2 separate regions of the Homo sapiens genome follow, and region 2 is linked to region 1. Evidence: promoter capture Hi-C in human tissues and cell types (Jung and others, 2019). All regions are on one chromosome and are shown on one strand. Each heading gives the region's core, a stretch centred on a gene start or on the middle of the fragment in contact. The rest is flanking DNA. Distances are from core to core; before and after follow the strand shown.

What was found. The method cuts DNA at HindIII sites, captures the fragments that hold promoters and counts their contacts. A contact is called where the count stands out against the background at its distance.
Region 2: a contact is called between a fragment that was not itself captured here and the fragment with the promoter of UNCX in region 1, in 2 of the 25 tissues and cell types used here (IMR-90 fibroblasts and bladder).

What each region holds. Positions count from the first base shown.
Region 1 is chr7:1,231,183-1,234,345 of GRCh38, forward strand. UNCX (UNC homeobox) reads left to right here and starts at 1,690. Exons shown (of 3, transcript NM_001080461.3): 1 at 1,690-2,109; 2 at 2,338-2,513. The coding sequence starts at 1,836. RefSeq lists an enhancer at 2,695-3,163. The HindIII fragment of the contact is 11,886 bases long and covers 1-3,163 here.
Region 2 is chr7:1,336,254-1,339,416 of GRCh38, forward strand. No RefSeq gene overlaps it. Among named protein-coding and RNA genes, the nearest start is that of UNCX, 100 kb to the left of the region's middle. The HindIII fragment of the contact is 5,963 bases long and covers 1-3,163 here.

The DNA.
Region 1 (3,163 bases), core at 440-2,939:
CTCTCGGTCTCCTGGATTGGCTGGGCCTGGTCCTCAACCCTGCGCCGTCCCCTCCTCTCCCGCAAGGAGAGACAAGAGGGTCATTGAAGTCGGAGTCAGCGTGGATCGGCCCGTCCACGACCTTCAGTTAGGAACAGGGCCAGACTGTGGGTCCAGTCGCAGGGACAGGCAGTCGTGTGGCAGGACGGGGTGGCCTTGCGCCCGCCAACCCAAGCATTCCCCTCCTGAGCGTTTCCGGCACCCCCCACCCTCCCCGGCCCAGGCACGGGCACCTGACCCGGAGGGACGCAGAGATGCGCACGGTCCCGGCCTGCCCTTCCCTCTCACGCGGGCTAGGGCTTGGAGGCCTGGCCCAAGTCACTTACTTACACCCAAAGCCAACTGGTCTGTCACTTTGCCCTGGGGTGGTGGTGGCTCCGCAGACTGGCCCAGCCCAGGCCGGAGCTCTCCTCCTCTCTTCCCCGCCCTGGGCTGGCCGAGGCTCGGGGCACTCACTGCTGGAGAGGTGGCCCTAACCCAACTAGTCCAGCACTGGGGTCCCGCAGCCAAATGCGACCACCCCACTGACAAACTTTTTTACAAAGGAGAGAGATGGACCGACATCCCCTCATTTCTTTCCTTGCTGCCCACAATCCTGATTTGCTGCTTATTTAAGAATATATCCTTTAGTGATTTAGCTTTGAGTCTATCAATATTTTATAGCAGAGAAGGGAGTGACACTTCTCTGAGAACATAATTTAATTATAATAAATGGGTTGGGTGCTTCAGCCCCATCCTTCAGAGGCCGAGTCAGAGCGGATGTATTTATCTTTATTCGAGCGTGTAAGGGGGTGGGGGCGGATCGGCCCCACCCCAAAGTTACTTTTCCCCTCCTGTCCCCATCCCTCTCTCCTCCTCTGCGCCCGGGCTTTATGGGGATGGGGGTCGGGGAGCCTCCGCAGCCCCCCCCACCTCTGTCTTTGTAGATAGGGCGACTGCCAGTCAATCAGAGAGGGCATTAGTTACGCCTCTTTATTGACAGGGTGCTACATTCTGTAGTTCTTCTCTTTCGGGATCGCCCTCCTCCTCCTCCTCCTCCTCCTTCCTCCTCTCCCGCCGCCTGCAGCCGGAGAGGAGGAGATGAGAAGCCTTGTAGTTTTAAATTCAATGTGACAGTTTCGGAAAAGCGGATGATGAATCTCCTATTATTGGATCAGTCTATTTGCCGCTCAATGTCTCTCTGTAATTGGAGCAACATCACTTTAAAGGTTCAGAGAGTACAGCATTTCTGGTGAAAAATCCCCACAACACGGCGCTGAATGTTTTAAAGGGAAATCTATTAGTGATTTGCGGAGGGGCGGGGAGGCGGCGGCTGGCGGGAGGCGCGGGCTCGGGGCCGGCCCCGAGTGAAGTGGGGGGCTAGCTGGGGGCCCCTGCCCCGGGCCCAGGCACCAGCCCGCGCCTGCCCGGCCCTGGGCGGCCCCTCCCTCCCTCCCTCCCTCCCTCCGGCTCCCCCCGCCCCCAGCCCGTCTTGTTGTGACAGTTCCTGATACTGTTTATTGAGGTGCATGTCAGGTATAATTAGCAATCGATATGGAAAACGTTTCCCTGCACCCAGCACGCCTCTGACGTCAGAGCCGATTAGCGCTTCTTATTGGTCCCAAATTCCCCGGGCCGCGGCTAATTATCGGGAGCTTGATGTTGATAAGTAAAGCGCCGGAGTGCGGGCGAAGCATGTGTGGGGCTCCGGGTCCCTGTCTCCGCCGCCGCCGCCCGCGCCTCCCGCCGCTGGCCCGCCCCGGCCCCGGCCCGCGCCCCCGCGCCCCGCCACCGGCCCCGCCGGCCCCCCGCGCGAGATGATGGACGGCCGCCTCCTGGAACACCCGCATGCCCAGTTCGGGGGCTCGCTGGGCGGCGTGGTGGGCTTCCCCTACCCGCTGGGCCACCACCACGTGTACGAGCTGGCCGGGCACCAGCTGCAGTCGGCCGCCGCCGCCGCCTCGGTGCCCTTCTCCATCGACGGCCTGCTCGGGGGCTCGTGCGCCGCCGCCGCCTCGGTGGTCAACCCCACGCCGCTGCTGCCAGCCGCCTGCGGGGTCGGCGGGGACGGCCAGCCCTTCAAGCTGTCAGGTAGGCGCGGCGGGCGGGAGGGCGGGGAGGAGTGCGGCTGGGGGCGGGGGCCCTGGTCCGGCCGAGGCGCTGGGGGGCCCGGGGCTGGCGAAGGAGAGCCGGCTCCTAGGCGGCCGTCTCTGCGCCCCCCCCCCCGGATCCAGGCGGCCAGCGGGTAGCGGGAGGGAGGGGTGGGGGTCGGGCCTGGGCCGGTGGCTGAGCCGCGCTGCGTCCTGTGACTGCCCGCAGACTCGGGGGACCCGGACAAGGAGAGCCCGGGCTGCAAGCGGCGGCGCACCCGCACCAACTTCACCGGCTGGCAGCTGGAGGAGCTGGAGAAGGCGTTCAACGAGAGCCACTATCCCGACGTGTTCATGCGCGAGGCGCTGGCGCTGCGCCTAGACCTGGTCGAGTCCCGAGTTCAGGTAAAGACCCGGCGTCGCTCCCGGATCTGCCATCCGGACCCCAGGCTCTGGGCGCGCCGGGACGCCTTTGTTCCAGGTGGCGAGATATCGTCCCCTTGCCGCGGGCCCGCTTCGCGCTCGCCTGCTGGGGAAGAGTGGAGGGGTGGGGGTTCTGGGGCTCGGCCCCTCACGGACAGCGGGGTGGGTAACTGCCCCCCAAAAGCCTGGGCGGCTTGAGAAGGGCCGGCGGCAGCACCCGAGTCACCAGAACAGCGGCTGCGTCCGAACCGGGAAGCGGCGTGGTGGGTTGGCGGAGGCCGGGCCAAGTGAGGTCTCCAGGCAGGGGCGAGGAGGGGAGGAGGGGCCGGCTTGGCTCCGACCCGGAGGAGAGAGGGAAGGGGACCCCCCCCCGCCCCCGCACCGCCTCAACCTTCCGCGCGAGGCTCTGTCACCCAGCCTGGAGCGAACGAGTCTGTTTACCTTGCGCCTGCAAAATATTCAGATGGAAACATGTATTTATTCATCGCTTTGCAGAAGGGAACAGCTGAGGAAGGGGAGGCAGAAGCTTAAACAGTTAACACATTGAGAAAGTGGGAGAAAAAAAGGTGTCTGAATTTTTAATAATAACCCCGGTCTCATCTTTTTCTTACGACTGTTTTCCCGTAAATTTG
Region 2 (3,163 bases), core at 274-2,773, 100 kb after region 1:
AGAATGAATCCCTTGGACAGTTTTTGTGGAATTGCTGTTGTACAAATACTTCAATATCTCCCGTCATGGGGTTTGTGCTATTGTCGGTATTCACTTTACTTATGCATGTGTTATAAACCTGACATTGTTATTTTTGTTTAAACAGTCAATTATCATTGTAAGACATTTAAAAAATAACAGAAAAATCATGTATTTTCCTATGTACTCACCATTCCCAGTGCCTCTCATTCCTTGTGTAAATTCACATTTCTATCAGCTTGAAGGACTTCCTTTAATGTTTCTCGTAGTACACGTGTGCTGCTGATGAGTTATTTCAGCTGTTGTTTGTCTGAAAATGTTTTTTATTTTTAAAAATTTTTCCACTTAGCCTTGACTTGAAACTCATGAAAATATCTTTATTTCATTGTCAGTTCTGAAAAATAGTTTTGCTGGGTATAGAATTCTAGGTTGGAAGGGTTTTCAGTACTTTCAAGATGTTGCTCCGGTGTCTGGCTTTAATATTTCCACTGAAAAAAAACCTGCTGTCATTCTTATTTTTAACTTTCTGTGTGTTTTATCTCTATGTGTCTTTTCTTTGCTTTTAAGATTTTTCTTGGCTGGGCACAGTAGCTCATACCTGTAATCCCAACACTTTGGGAGGCCAAGGTGGGTGGATCACCTGAGGTCAGGAGTTCGAGACCAGCCTGACCAACATGGTGAAACCTCATCTTTACAAAAAATCTAAAAAATTAGCTGGGTTTGGTGGTGCACACCTGTAGTCTCAGCTACTCAGGAGGCTGAGGTGGGAGGATCCCTTGAGCTCAGCAGGCAGAATCTGCAGTGAGCTGTGATTGCACGAGTGCACTCCAGCCTGGGTGACAGAGCAAGACCCCATCTCAAAAAAAAAAAAAAGCTTCCTTTAAGTAATTTCATAATGATATACCTGCATGTACTTTTCATCATATTTCTTAAACTTGGGGTATGTCAGACTTTTTATCCATGAGTTTATAACTTTGATCACATTTGGTAAATTTTCAGCCATTAGCTCTTCAAAATATTTTTTTCTCTCCCCTCTCCTTCAGGAACTCCAATTACCTACACATTAGGCTGCTTGAAGCTGTCCCACAACTTGCTGATGTTTGTAATTAAAATAAAATGATTTATTCTTCATTCTGAATAGCTTCTTCTGACATGTCTGATCTTCTATCATTGCCATCTAGTGTATTTTTAAATCTAAGACATTGTAGTTGGCACAACTATAAGTTCAATTTGGTCATTTTTATATCTTCTATGTTTCTTTTCTTCCTTTCTTTCTCCTTCACTTCTTTCTCTCTCTCTTCTTTTCCCTCCCTCCCTCCTTTCCTCCCTCCCCTCCCTCCCTCCTCTCCCTCCTTCTTTCTTTCTTTCTTTCTTTCTTTCCTCTCTCTTTTATATCTTCTATGTTTCTTTTCTTCCTTTCTTTCTCCTTCACTTCTCTTTCTTTTCCCTCCCTCCCTCCTTTCCTTCTTTCCTCCCTCCCTCCCTTCCCTCCCTCCCTCCTCTCTCTCCTTCTTTCTTTCTTTCCTCTCTCTTTCCTTTCTTTCTTTCTTTCTTCTTTTTCTTTCTCTCTTCTCTCTCTTTCTCCTTTCTTTTCTTTCTCTCCTCTCTCTCTTTCTCTCTTTCTTTCCTTTCTTTCGTCTCTCTCTGTTACCCAGGCTGGAGTGCAATAGCATGACAATAACTCACTGTAGCCTCAAACTCCTGAACTCAAGTGATCCTCCTGCATCAGCCTCCCAAGTACCTGGGACTACAGGAATGCACCCCCATTTCCAGCTAATTTTTAAAGATTTTGTAGAGACAGGGTCTTGCTATGTTGGCCAGGCTGGTCTTGAACTCTTAGCCCCAAGCAATCCTCCCACCTCAGCCTCCCAAAGTGCTGGGGTAATGGGTGTGAACCACCTCATCCAGCCTACATCTTCCATGTTTCTACTTCACTTTTTGAACATATAGTGAAGCCTGTCTGCTCATTCTAACATCTGTGTCAGTTCTTGGGTCAGTTTCCATTGATCAATTATTCTCCTTATTGTGGGTCATGTTTTTCAGTTTCTGTTAATGCCTGATAATCTTTGATTGGATGCTAGACATTGTGAACTTTGCCTCACTGGTTGCTTGATATTTTTGTATTCCTATAAATATACCTGAGGCTGTATTTTGGGATGTAGTCAGGTTACTTAGAAACAGTGTGATCTGGCCGGGCATGGTGGCTCATGTCTGTAATCCCAGCACTTTAGGAGGCAGAGGTGGGTGGATCACCTGAGGTCAGGAGTTCTAGACCAGCCTGGCCAACATGGTGAAACCCCATCTCTATAAAAATATAAAAATTAGCTGGGCATGATGGCGGGTACCTGTGATCCCAGCTACTCAGGAGGTTGAGGCAGGAGAATTGCTTGAACTTGGGAGGCGGAGGTTACAGTGAGTCAAGATGGTGCCATTGCACTCCAGCCTGGGTGACAGAGACTCCATCTCAAAAAAAAAAAAAAAAAAAAAGGCTGGGTGTGGTGGCTCACGCCTGCAATCCCCACAGTTTGGGAGGCTGAGGTGGGCGGATCACGAGGTCAGGAGATCGAGATCTTACTGGCCAACATGGTGAAACCCTGTCTCTACTAAAAATACAAAAATCAGCTGGGCGTGGTGGTGCATGCCTGTAATCGCAGCTACTCGGGAGGCTGAGGCAGGAGAATCACTTGAACCAGGGAGTTGGAGGTTGCAGTGAGTCAAGATGGTGCCATTGCATTCCAGCCTGGTGACAGAGCGAGACTCAGTCTAAAAAAGAAAGAAAGAAAGAAACAGTGTGATCTTTTCCAGTCTTGCTGTTGTTGTCAGTTTAGTGCATCTGGAGCAGTCTGGTGCTAATTATTCCTCACGACTGAGGCAACACCTTCCTGAACATTCTTCCTAGGGACCTGCAAACAATGAGTTTTTCCATCATGAGTCTGGCTGGGGAGAACACATCTCCCAGCCCTGAGTCAGCACTGGGCATTGGTCTCTAATCCATTTGGATGCTTCTTCCCCAGGCCTTGGACAATTCCCCCACATTCATGCACTGATGAGTTGAACACTTGAGAGGAAGCCTCTGCAGACCTCCCAAGTCCTCACTCTCTGTTCAGGACTCTCCTTTTATGTGCATTGTCCTGCAAACTCAAGC